Regions from separate parts of the Homo sapiens genome. Here region 1 is linked to region 2. The links are contacts of gene promoters, found by promoter capture Hi-C in human tissues and cell types (Jung and others, 2019). All regions are on one chromosome and are shown on one strand. The core of a region is centred on a gene start or on the middle of the fragment in contact, and the rest is flanking DNA. Distances in the headings are between cores, read along the strand shown. Region 1 overlaps MYOCD (myocardin). Region 2 holds the start of ARHGAP44 (Rho GTPase activating protein 44).

What was found. The method cuts DNA at HindIII sites, captures the fragments that hold promoters and counts their contacts. A contact is called where the count stands out against the background at its distance.
Region 1: a fragment that was not itself captured here is called in contact with the fragment with the promoter of ARHGAP44 in region 2 in 2 of the 25 tissues and cell types used here (pancreas and spleen).

What each region holds. Positions count from the first base shown.
Region 1 is chr17:12,743,389-12,750,280 of GRCh38, forward strand. MYOCD (myocardin) reads left to right here. Exons shown (of 14, transcript NM_001146312.3): 8 at 795-1,048; 9 at 2,531-2,684. Among named protein-coding and RNA genes, the nearest start is that of MYOCD-AS1, 41 kb to the left of the region's middle. The HindIII fragment of the contact is 8,828 bases long and covers 1-6,892 here.
Region 2 is chr17:12,784,030-12,790,875 of GRCh38, forward strand. ARHGAP44 (Rho GTPase activating protein 44) reads left to right here and starts at 5,469. Exons shown (of 21, transcript NM_014859.6): 1 at 5,469-5,862. The coding sequence starts at 5,810. It overlaps ARHGAP44-AS1 (ARHGAP44 and MYOCD antisense RNA 1), which reads right to left and starts at 6,255. Exons shown (of 2, transcript NR_104607.1): 1 at 6,114-6,255. RefSeq lists a silencer at 5,396-5,745. The HindIII fragment of the contact is 5,339 bases long and covers 3,441-6,846 here.

The DNA of each region.
Region 1 (6,892 bases), core at 1,760-4,259, 43 kb before region 2:
TCAAAGAAAATCTTAGTTTTATCTTAGTTTATGTCATTAATAAGTCGACTTATTAAGTGTTTAACTAAAAGTGACTGCACATATGCATATGAAAGTTCTTTTTTTTTTTTTTTTTTTTTTTGAGATGGAGTTTCGCTCTTGTTGCCCAGGCTGGAGTGCAATGGCGTGATCTCGGCTCACTGCAACCTCTGCCTCCTGGGTTCAAGCAATTCTCCTGCCTCAGTTTCCCGAGTAGCTGGGATTACAGGCGCCTGACACCACACCTGGCTACTTTTTGTATTTTTTGTAGAGAAGGGGTTTCACCGTGTTGGTCAGGCTAGTCTCGAACTCATGACTTCAGGTGATCCACCCGCCTCGGCCTCCCAAAGTGTTGGCATTGGCATTACAGGTGTGAGCCATCGCTCCCAGCCATGAAAGAACTTTCTACAAGTAGTCTCAAGATCAGAATGCAACCTTTGTTAGGTCATCAGTTGGTTTTAGGTTAGGAGAATGCACTCATTGAAACACAGGATTACATTTTGCTGTACTCCAGAAAGGAAAAACTCTGGAGCTGCTTCTAAGATTCAACATTCCCTGTCTAAGGAGTGTCCTTCCAGTGTGATACATTTGCAATGGATTTGTTCATTAGCAACGTTAGTGTCCTAGGAGCTCTTTGTACATCATGCCTTTGCTATATTATATTTCTGAGATCCAAGAATGGCCATCAGACAAAACTGCCTCACAACGTGTCCATGATGCAAAATCATTCTCAGCCATCACCTAAAGCACATGCAATTTCCTCATCTTCTTTGCAGTCCAAATCCTTGGGTGACAGTAAGAACCGCCACAAAAAGCCCAAGGACCCCAAGCCAAAGGTGAAGAAGCTTAAATATCACCAGTACATTCCCCCAGACCAGAAGGCAGAGAAGTCCCCTCCACCTATGGACTCAGCCTACGCTCGGCTGCTCCAGCAACAGCAGCTGTTCCTGCAGCTCCAAATCCTCAGCCAGCAGCAGCAGCAGCAGCAACACCGATTCAGCTACCTAGGGATGCACCAAGCTCAGCTTAAGTAAGTCCGGCAAGGCTGGGAGGGTGGCTGTGGGCAGAGGTTGGGAAGGGTGTCTATTAATATCTATCTGCCAGCACCATGGGGCCTAGCAAGTCCTGTATTGCACCATTTCCTCATCCAGTATGTTTGGAAGGTGACTCAATTTAGAAACTATGCACACCTTTTCAGAGCCGTAAGACTGGGAGGAAGCAAATACAGGGCCCTCTATATCTGCAGATGTATTCCAAACCCTCATTGGATCCCTGAAACCTCAGAGAGTACTGAACTCTACATATACTGTATTTTTCTTAGGCATATATACCTGTGATAAGGTTTCACTTATAAATTAGGCACAGTGAGAGAATAACAATAATAGCTAGCAATAATGTAGAACAATTATAGCAAGATACTGTAATAAAAGGTATCTGGATGTGGTGGTTTCTCTCTCAAAATAACTTATTGTACTGGACACAACTATTTTTGAACTGCAGTTGACCTCAGGTAACTGAAATCTTGTAAAGTGAAACTGCCAATAGGTGGAGGGACTGCTATAAATCAATGCCCTTGATAAGAGGCCCCTTTGGGGAAAAGGAAAGTATTAGCACTTTCAAGTTGGACTATGGAAAGTCTAAGAATGTGATATTGGAATTATGAGCAATTCCGATGCCCTTCTGCTTTTAGAAGGAACAGGGCTGAGCAGCTGACAGACACTCTCAAAGATTGACTCCTGAGCCCAGGTTGTGTGACCACATTGCTAGGTCACCTTTTATTTTTTTTAAATATATTTATTTATTTATTCATTTATTTTTTCGAGATGGAGTTTCACTCTTGTTGCCCAGGCTGGAGTGCAATGGCGCGATCTTGGCTCACCGCAACCTCCGCCTCCCAGGTTCAAGCGATTCTCCTGCCTCAGCCTCCCTAGTAGCTAGGATTACAGGCATGCGCCACCACGCCCGGCTAATTTTGTATTTTTAGTAGAGACAGGGTCTCTCCACGTTGGTCAGGCTGGTCTCAAACTCCCAACCTCAGGTGATCCACCCGCCTCGGCCTCCCAAAGTGCTCGGATTACAGGCATGAGCCACCGTGCCTGGCCAGGTCACCCTTTAAATTGTCAATATCCCCACATATAAAGTTGAGATGTAGATTCCTCCTGTGTCATCCTCAGACTATATACTAGCAATTATGCTGAGCACTAAACGCAACCAAGCTTCACCAGGTGTGTTTGGCCTCCCCAGGACAGAGCATCAGCTGAATCACAGGTGGATGTGTCCTCTTTCATATGCCAAAGTCCCTGCCACTCCCTCTTATCTCCCTAAACAAAGTTCAGATGTCACGCACCGCTTACCGTCTAGCCGGCAGTGTTGTTTTTCCTCACCCTGGTCTCTTCTGCTGGTTTATTACATGCCTGACCCTTGCAGGCAATCACTTTGGGATCCGATCTAAATGCAAGTTATCCCACCAATATTTGATTGTACTTGAAATGCCTCTTTGTTTGTTTTTTAGGGAACCAAATGAACAGATGGTCAGAAATCCAAACTCTTCTTCAACGCCACTGAGCAATACCCCCTTGTCTCCTGTCAAAAACAGTTTTTCTGGACAAACTGGTGTCTCTTCTTTCAAACCAGGCCCACTCCCACCTAACCTGGATGATCTGAAGGTATAGGATTTGACATGAGTTTCTTTCTTTTTTTAAACAAATACAACAGTATGTTGTTAACATCACCAGGACCAACTGATATCTGGAGTAAGAGAGTGGGAGGGGAAGAAGACTGTAGGAAACACTGAAGGAGGTGACAGAATTTATCCTGCTGTGGTTGAACACCCCAGTTGTCTAGTCCATTTTATGCAGCCGTAACAGGATACTGGAAACTGGGAAATTTGAAAAGAAAAGGAATTTATTTCTCACAGTTCTAGAACTGAGAAGTCCGAGGACATGGCACCAGTATCTGGCAAATGCCATCCCATGGTAGAAGGGCAGAAGGTGGAAGGGCAAGAAAGGGCAAGAGCCCTTTCTTTTGAGATAGAGGGAAAAGACAAACTTTATGTTTATTTTACCATAGCAAAAAATAATTTTTAAGTAGGCTATTTCTAGATAAGAGTAAGACAGGAGACAAGTGAGACAGGAGATGCTTTAGCCAAAGAGAAACATGATCCAGATATGATAGTGCCATCTGTCAGACCCCTCAAAACCCACTTTTGGGAGGCTGAGGCAGGTGGATCCCTCTAGATACACATGCTCAGAATCATTGGCTGGTGAGAGTTACGGTAATTAGTATAGGTATAAGGAGATGATGATGATGATGGTGCCTACCTTTTTTTTTTTTTTTTTTTGAGATGGAGTCTTGCTCTGTCATCCAGGCTGGAGTGCAGTGGCACAATCTTGGCTCACTGCAAGCTCTGCTTCCCGGCTTCAAGCGATTCTCCTGCCTTAGCTTCCCTAGTAGCTGGGACTACAGGCACCTACCACTACACCCAGCTAATTTTTGTATTTTTAGTAGAGACAGGGTTTCACCAGTTGGCCAGGCTGGTCTCGAACTCCTGACCTCAGGTGATCCACCGGCCTTGGCCTCCCAAAGTGCTGGGATTACAGGCATGAGCCACCCTGCCCAGCCCCTACCAATTTTTTTTTTTTTTAAATATAAACCATCTGTCATTCATTCTGTGTAGATTTGCTTTAATTTTCACCCTGCAAGATAAGTTTTGTCTCCCCAATTTAAAAAGTGAAAATAAAAACCAGAATCATAAAGAGGTCAAATGATAGGCAGTTTAACCAGCTTATGAATGACAAAACTGAGGCTTAAAGCTAAGTAACTTATTTCAAGGGCTTTGCTATTGTATGAGACGTGAGTGGAAAGAGAGAGATGGGCAGGAGAGAACGTGGCTGGACTTGACCACTCACTGTGTGTATGGGGAGAGGCGCCATCTGAGTCTTGGGAGAGTGACATCAATGACAGAAGGAGAGTAGAATGAGGAGTTGATGTGAAGGGACAGTGGCAAGTTCATTCAGTTTGGGAAAGTCAAGTCGCGGGTACCAGCAGGACAACCGAGAGAAAAGTCATCCATTTCCATCAGTAAGAATTAGCCAGGCTGTCTTGTCAGGGGTGGGAAAAGAAATTTCAGACTCATGTGCGACGTGTGGAGCATTGAACCTAGAAGGGTGAATGAGATTGACAAAGAACAAAATGGAAAGAGTGAGAAGGAAAGAGAGAAGAGGAATGAAGGAGGCATATGATGCAACCACAATTGAGGAAAGGGAGAAATAAGAGGAATGGATGAAGGTGACCCCGCTAATAGTAATCAGAAAGGTCATATAATGAAGGTGACATTTGCAAGCAATTTTCATGTTTTGCTACACAAAAGGAAAAGAACACTGAGAGAAAAGTCTTTGATTTCTTTTTGAAAAGTTCATGGTTATATATCACAGTATGTGGATAATTTTTTGGATCCTATTTAAAAAAAAAAAAAACTGGCTGGGCGTGGTGGCTCACGCCTATAATCGCAGCACTTTGGGTGCTGCGGTAGGCGGATCATGAAGTCAAGAGATCAAGACCAGCCTGACCAACACGGTGAAACCCCATCTCTACGAAAAATATAAAAATTAGCTGGGCGTGGTGGTGCACGCCTGTAATCCAGCTACTCGGGAGGCTGAGGCGGGAGAATCGCTTGAACCCGGGAGGTGGAGGTTGCAGTGAGCCAAGATCGTGTCACTGCACTCTAGCCTGATGACAGAGCTTGACTCCGTCTCAAAAAAAAAAAAAAAAAACAAAAAAACAAAAAAACTGGAGAGAGAGAGAAAGAGAGAGACTGAAAGTTTAAAAAACTGAGAGAATACCTTATTGATATTAAGAAATAATAATTCATATTTTAAGGTGTGATAATGTTATTATATTATGGCTTTTTAAGAGTACTTATCTTTCAGAGATAGAGACCAAATTATTTGGATGAAATTATGTATGCTTTGCTTCAAAATAATTCAGGAAAGGTAGGAGAAGTGGGTTGGAGTATAGAAGAAACAAGATTGGGCATGAGTGATAATTGTTGAAGTTTGTTGATGAGTATATGAGGTTCATTAGACTTTCTATCTACTTTTGTGTATGTGTGAATTTTTCCATAATAGTTTAAAAAGTTATTAGTGATGAAAACACTAGTGAATGTAGGGAAGAGGTGTATATAAACCTTTGTCCTGAACAAGCGCATACAGTGTAATATTCTGAAGTTTAAGGTAAATTAAACTCAACTGTATTCATTTTTAGAATATGAGCTACATTATTTAATAATGTAGTTAAATTATTCAGTGGCAAGACAGATTCTAAAAATAAATGTAGAACTCATCAATTTTAAGTAATTCAAAATTAAAACAATAATGAGTTGCCATTTTGTACTTTTTCAAACCAGCAAATCTAAAAGAAAATGATAAAACAATTCCAGCAAGACTATAGGGTAAATAAATAATTGCTAATGTAAGTTAATTCAATCCTTTCCTTTTAGCTGATTATAAAGTAACATATATTGACTGTTGAAATATGATAGTGTGTAGAAAAGTAAACAGTATTTTGAAAGATAAGACTAACAGAAAGCAGATTATATTTCCTTCTAGGTTTAAAATGCATATAAACATTTTGTTTTAAAATAATTGTCTTGAAAAAATTACGTGCACATAAATTACTGGCATACTTCTTTTCTTAACACATCGTGAACATTTTTCATAACTGTTAATATTCAATAAATTTTTTATTTTTAATAGCAGCATATCACTTCACCACCTAGTTAACATTCCACTGCTGGACACTTCACTAGCTACCAGATTTTTGCTATTCAAAACGTGATTTCAGGCGGGGCGCAGTGGCTCACGCCTGTAATCCTAGCGTTTGGGAGGCCAAGGTGGGCGGATCGCTTGAGGTCAGGTGTTCAAAACCAGCATGGCCAACATGGTGAAACCCCATCTCTACTAAAAATACAAAAAATTAGCCGGGTGTGGTGGTGCACACCTGTAATCTCAGCTACTCAGGAGGCTGAGGCAGGGGAATTGCTTGAACCCAGGAGACGGAGGTTGCAGTGAGCTGAGATCGCACCACTACACTCCAGCCTGGGTGACAGAGCGAGACTCTGTCTCAAAACTTATATATATATATGTATGTATATACATATGTATATGTATATATACAAAACCTATATATATGTGTGTATATATATACACATGTCTCAAAACCTATATATACGTGTGTATATATACACACGTATATATACACATATGTATATACACATACATATGTGTATATATGTATACATATGTGTATATATATGTGTGTGTGTATATATATATATGATTTCAGTGATCTTTGTGCCTACATTTATTAGTTTCTCTGATTATTTCCTCAGGCTAGAATAAAATTCCTGAATTAAATATATTAATATTGTTTAAAGTTTTTTGTTTGTTTGTTTGTTTGTTTTTGAGACGGAGGCTCGCTCTGTCGCCCAGGCTGGAGTGCAGTGGCCGGATCTCGGCTCACTGCAAGCTCCGCCTTCCGGGTTCACGCCTTTCTCCTGCCTCAGCCTCCCGAATAGCTGGGACTACAGGCGCCCGCCATCATGCCCAGCTAATTTTTTGTATTTTTAGTAGAGACGGGGTTTCACCGTGGTCTCGATCTCCTGACCTCGTGATCCGCCCGCCTCGGCCTCCCAAAGTTCTGGGATTACAGGAGTGAGCCACGGCGCCCGGCTAAAGTTTTTGATACATATTAAAATTTCTGCCGTGAACATTTATGTGTCTGTTCCCAGAAGCAGCAAGTCGAAGCAGCACTTCTCAAACATTAATGTGTGAACTGAATCACCTGAGCTCTTGGTAGCATGAAGATTCTGATTTAG
Region 2 (6,846 bases), core at 4,219-6,718:
ATACCTGCAAGTATAAAGGTGATTGGAATCTGTAATATCCTTCAGTTGTATTGTAGCACTGAATGTTGTTTTGACATATCAAATACTGTAAGGCATAGGTGTATCTTCTCCAACAGCAATTTATTGAGCAAATAGACTGGCCAGTTAATTCCCCAAAACATATTACTTAGAGATTTTTTACTATAAACCCCCATATAGTAGATAAGAAAAGAGTGTCCTGGAGAAGTCCAGCAAGATGATTGGCCATAATTATAATGAGCTCGAGCTTCCTGTTCTGCTTTCTCTCTTCTGTGGACCCTACACAGTCATATGATGTATAGGATGTTTCAGTCAACAAAGAACCGCATATACAACAGTGGTCCCATAAGGTTATAACACTGTATTTTTACTGTACTTTTTCTATGTTTAGATGTGTTCAGATAACACAAACCCTTACCATTGTGTTACAATTGCCTACACTATTCAGTACAGTGACATGCTATACAGGTTTGTAGCCTAGGAGCAGTAGGCTATACCCTATAACCTAGGCATGCAGTAGGCTATACAATCTAGGTCTGTGTAAGTACTTTCTTTTTTTTTTTGAAACGGAGTCTCGCTCTGTCACCTAGGCTGGAGTGCAGTGGCACGATCTCGGCTCACTGCAAACTCCGCCTCCTGGGTTCAAGTGATTCTCCTACCTCAGCCTCCCGAGTAGCTGGGATTACAGATGCCCACCACCACACCTAGCTAAATTTTGTATTTCTAGTAGAGACGGGTTTTCACCACATTGGCCAGGCTGGTTTCGAACTCCTGGCCTCAGGTGATCCACCTGCCTTGGCCTCCCAAAGTGCTGGAATTACAGGCGTGAGCCACCACGCCTGGCTGTGTAAGTACTTTCTATGATGTTTTTGCAACAACAAAATCACCTAATAATGTATTTCTCAGAACATATCCCTGTCATTAAGTGACACATGAGGTTATTCTGAATTCTGTTCTGTAGACCAGCCCTGTCCAATGGAGCTTTCTATGATGATGAAAATGTTATTTTACATTCTCTACTACGGCAGCCACTAGCCACATGTAGTTATTGGGCACTTGAAATGAAAAACTGAAATTTTTGTTTTATTTAACCTAATTTAAAATAATATTTAAGTAACCACATGTAGCTAATGATTCCCATGTTGGCCAGGTGGCTCTAGTGAATGCTTGCTCTCAGAGTAGAGGTTAAAACCATTCTAATTCAGGGGATTCTAAATGGAGTATCAGATTTCTAAGGGAACATATCTCAGACAAATAGTACTACAATGTTGCTGAAGCAAGTAAGAAGCCCATATATTGTTGACCAAAGCAAGTGACAAGGTCAAAGTCAAGGTCAACAGGAGCAGGGAAGTGTAATCTTCCCATAGGTCAAAGCTAGGTATATAAGACATAGAAATTTCTTTCTTCTTTTCTCCTCTTCTTTCCCCTTCCCACCGTCCTTCCTCACCTCCTCCTCTTCTTTTGCAAATACATTTAAATTTTATATTAAGTCTATTCTTCTAGGTGGCAAAAATTAAGTTTTAGGCAATTCCATCTCCATCTTGGCCAATGCTGCCTCCTCCTCCTGATCATCATCTTTGATCTCAATAGCTTTCACATCCAGCTGTTTCAGGTACATTTGTGTATCCTCACAGCACACATGCAGACACCAAATCATCGCACATGGCTTGGGTGCAGGGAGCTCTGGGGCTGCCACTAGCCTGTGGTATGGGTACCTGAGGCACTTCATATAGATGTCTTACTGGTCCTCTGTCTTAGAAGGCAGAGGATCTCCACAAGCTTGGCCATGCCTAGCCTTCACTCCAGGAGTGGTGTACAGCTTCTCCACTGTGCTCAGATGCCCCAAAACGATATGATATATCTGTCTTCAGTCTGCCTGCCCCCAACCTAATTGTTGACCATGGGTAAAAGCAAGGTGCATGCTACTTTCTCAGAGAAACCCACTGTAGCAGTCAGCTTAGACTCAATTATGTTACAGCAACAAACCTCTGATTTAAAACAGCAAAGATACCTTTTGCTGGGGGGCCACATCACTGTTCCACAGCATCCCCTAACTGGTTCATTGGCAGCGTTAAGAAGAAGAGGGCAGGATCACAAAATGACTCCTGAAACTTCTGCCCTCAGAAGAAGCGTAAAAGTCACCTCTGTGCATATTCATTGTTCAAAGAAAATCACATGACCGATCTTTACCTCAACAGTAAGGTAAAATAGAGTCCTTCCCATAGGGATTGGCAGTGAAATTTTTTGGGCATTAATAGTATCTGCACAAGCATCATCTACTTTTCTTCTCTCTTTCTCTCCCGCTTTCCAGTCCCCATCACCATCTTCAACATCTCACAGCCTGTAGGTTCTTTATTTAGACTAAGCAGGATGATATATGCTTTATAATCTACTATTTCTGACATAGACTATTAAAGCTCCAAAGCCTGTATTCTGGAAACTCAAAACTCTTTTCTTGAAGAACTCTATTCTGTCACATGTGTTTCTGAAGCTCTTGTTTCTGCACTATTATCCCTTCCCCGGGGTAGAAAGCAGAAAATGTACTAGCTGCTTCCTGAGTGAAGGAAGCATTCAAAGGAAGACAGAAAATCTGTGGAGAAGCCACCAGTTAATAAAACATTATTGGACCACACTCTGGCAGGGGAGGCTGCCAAAGGGATTTCCCTTTGGAACGGAAAAATCTTGGGATTGAAGGCAGGGGCTGGCATGATATTGGAGTTGGCTACCAGAGTTCTTGAGGATTAGTGCTAACAAGTAGAACTTTCTGAGAGGATAGTAATGTTCTTTATCTGTGCTGTCCAGTACAGTAGCCTTTAGCCACATGTGGCTCTTAAGTACTTCGAATGTGACTTGGGTGACCGAGGAACTAAATTCTGTTTTTATTTTATTTTATTTTTTATTAAACTTTAAGTTCTGGGATATGTGTGCAGAACGTGCAGGTTTGTTACATAGGTATACACGTGCCATGGTGGTTTGCTGCACCCATTAACCCATCATCTATATTAGGTATTTCTCCTAATGCTATCCCTCCCCTTGCCCCTACCCGCGACAGGCCCCGGTGTGTGATGTTCCCCTCCCTGTGTCCATGTTTTCTCTTTGTTCAACCCCCACTTATGAGTGAGAACATGCGGTGTTTGGTTTTCTGTTCCTGTGTTAGTTTGCTGAGAATGATGGTTTACAGCTTCATCCATGTCCCTGCAAAGGACATGAACTCATCCTTTTTAATGGCTGTATCCATGTCCCTGCAAAGGACATGAACTCACCCTTTTTTATGGCTGCATGGTATTCCATGGTGAAAATGTGCCACATTTTTTTTTATCCAGTCTATCATTGATGGGCATTAGGATTGTTTCCAAGTCTTTGCTATTGTGAACAGTGCCACAATAAACATACATGTGCATGTGTCTTTATAGCAGAATGATTTATAATCCTTTGGGTATATACCCAGTAATGGGATTGCTGGGTCAAATGGTATTTCTAGTTCTAGATCCTTGAAGAATTGCCACACTGTTTTCCACAATGGTTGAAGTAATTTACAATCCCACCAACAGTGCAAAAGTGAGGAACCAAATTTTGAACTTTAATTAACTTAAATTGCAACAACCACATGTGGCTAGGGGATACTATATTCAACAGTGCAGTTCTGGAAGTTACCAGAGATAGTGTTGCTAAAAGTCATACAGTGACCTTAATGTCTTACCGTTTATACACATAAAAAGCATGTTGTACTTTGCTTTTTAAAAAATCTCAAAATGGAAATAATTTCACTTAATATAGACATCATATTGACATTATAGGTACAGCATAGTTGGTTAAAAGCAAATAATGCCTTCATTTATTCACTGGCTGGAGTTGTCTGACCTAATAAGCAGAGGCTAAATTCACAATTAATTAAAGATTTCATGTTCATTCAGCCAAGACATGCCTCAAACCACTTTTTGTTCAGCTAGCCAGCAAGATACTTAGAGCCATATTTAGGACATCTTGCAACTATAATCAACATATGCAAAATATCCTATTTCAAAGAAGATCCTTCCTTTATAAGATTAGTAATTCTGTTGTATGAACAGGATTTTTCTCTATTATGCTAAATATAATCATTTTGTAGTAAATGAATACGGCAATGTACTATATGAAAATTTATATGTAATTTGATTATTGTAATTTAACAAATAGTTCTCTTACTGAAGATCAGGCAGCATATTTTTCTATTTAGGGATGAGGAAACAGAGGTTTGGAGAGGTTAAGCTGTTTTCCTAAGGTTATATAACAGGTATGTGGAATTCTGATGCAGGAACTCCTATCTGTTTAATCCAAAGTGCCTCACACCCAACAATACTGCTTTTACTTGATATATAATGATAAAACCTTGATATATAATGATAAAACCTAACTGCAATCACCAATCTTTTTCTTTTTTTTCTTTTCTTTTTTTTTTGTTTTTTGAGATGGAGTCTAGCTCTGTCACCCAGGCTGGCGTGCAATGGCGCGATCTCCACTCACTGCAACCTCCACCTCCCAGGTTCAAGCTATTCTCCTGCCTCAGCCTCCCAAGTAGCTGGGATTACAGGTGCCCGCCACCACGCCCAGCTAATTTTTGTATTTTTAGCAGAGACAGGGTTTCACTGTGTTGGCCAGGCTGGTGTCGAACTCCTGACCTCGTGATCCACCCTCCTTGGCCTCCCAAACTGTTGGGATTACAAGCGTGAGCCACCGCGCCCGGCTCACCTATCTTTTTCTAAGGATAGAGACCAAAGAAGCCACAACCCCTTCCAAGGAGTCAACTGACGCCAATGGGATGCTGTGGTGCAGGACACTTGGGGGGTGCTGCAGCTGATGCCCCTTGGTCTCCTGGTGGTGGAAGGGAAATGGGACTAGATACGAGATTGGCATCTAAGCCATACAAAAAAGCTGTCTCAGACAGGTTGGGCCAGTAAGCACAACGTCACTTATCTATATTGGCTTCTGGTTACCTAATGGGTTTGGTTTGGTAAAAATTAAGAATCAGACTTCTGGGATGCAAGCTATGCCTGTTCAAAATCTGCTGTCAGCCCCTGTGTTTCAAGCTTAACCTTGAACCTCATCATTAATCAGGTGACCTTAGACCGTTTTATCAGCCACGTATCTGCTAGCATAAATCTCCCTTCTGTGAATTCAGAACACTGATACCTCACATTCACTAAAAATACAATGAGAGACAGATGCTCACTTTCTTTATTTGCTGTTGTATTCTTGGTCCCACTTTGCCATTTTTAAAACAGGAAAACGTTTCCCTTACTCGAACGCTAAAGTGCAAAGCTGCTGGTGACGCTGCCTTCTCCCACCTCCGCACTCCACTGTCCTTGCAAACTTTGGACAGAGGAAAGGTGGGCACGGGGCGCGAAACTACAAGTCCCGGCATGCACGGCGTTCTCCGCACAGGCGCACGGGGACCGCCGGGCCAGCCGGCCAGCCAGCCTGCGGAGACTCCCGGGTCCCCGCGCCGGACTGGGACTGGGAGCAGGCAGCCCGGGCGGAGCGGGCCGGTGCCGAGGACGGCCCCAGGCATTGCTCTGCCCCGGGCATTGCGCGGCGCGCGTGAGGGGGATGCGGCAGGAGGCGGCGCGGCGGGAGGAGTAGGCGGCGGCGCCCTCGGGAGGGAGCTGCGCGCGGGCCAGACGGCGCCCGGAGGCTCCGCAGTGCCGCCGCCGTCGCCCGGGAGGCTCCGCGCGGGAGCCATGTAACCCTGCGGCGGGCTCCGGGCTGCTCCGTCCTTCCCCAGCTCCCGGGCTAGCGCGGCAGCGGGGCCACGATGAAGAAGCAGTTCAATCGCATGCGCCAGCTGGCCAACCAGACGGTGGGCAGGTAGGTCACCCGCGGGCACCGCTGTCGGTGCGCGCCCGCGAGGCTGCATCCGCAGGGGCGCGCAGGTGATGGAGCCCGCCCAGCCTCCAGTCCTCCTTGCCTCAGTCCTTTCCCCTGCACCAGCTCCCTCCAGGCGCCGCTCGCAGGCGCGACCCCTCCTCCCTAACTTCCCAGACCCCGGAGCTCTTCTCACTCGCCGCCTTCTGCTCCGGGCTCCGGTTGCCAAGCGCAAAGTGTGACGCATCCTTTACCTGCGTCCCCGGCTGCCCCTTCGCTTCGTCCTCCCTGCCTTTCCCCGGGACTCCCTTCTCCCTCTGGCCGCCTGTCTTCCTGGAAACAGGTGTTTGCTCTGATTGTGCTGGAGGCAGCCGAACCGCAGTCGGTCTCCGGAGATCTCTTCCCTCCCCTCCCCTGCGCCGAGTTCAGGGCTGCTCCCGGGTCCAGGGAAAGTGCTGGGCCTGGTCGGCCTGCCCCTCCCGCCGTGTTTGTTTTCAGGGACTATGACTGTACGAGATTCTGGATCACTTTCCTGGCCGGGTTTCTTAAGGCGTTTGGTGGGGGGAAAGGGTGAGGGGTGGGAGAGGAAGGAAGGTGCTGGTGGAATGGCGTTGCTGCCTGCTTGATGTTAGGACTGATTTCAGTGGAGGGAGGGAGGCTGCAAAAAGGAGGCCCAAGTCCTCGGGAAGATGAGATAAGCAGAGAATCGCAGCCAGGTAGGGGAGGGGGACAGAGGCCCCACAGTCAGAAGAGTCAGGCCCCGGGAAGCTGCAAGACCCCGCCTGCTGCCATCACGGTGAAAATGGGCTACATCTGGACTCCAGGAGCGGCTCTGCAGGGTGCCAACATCTATTAAGGTTACATAAAAATCCTGGTGGGTCGCTCCCAAGACTAGACATTCTTTGAACACAGGAGCGTTAGGTAGAAGGGATTTTTCCTGGAACCCCTACTCCTGGGGAGGGATTTCCGTTGCTGCTGTGGCAAAGG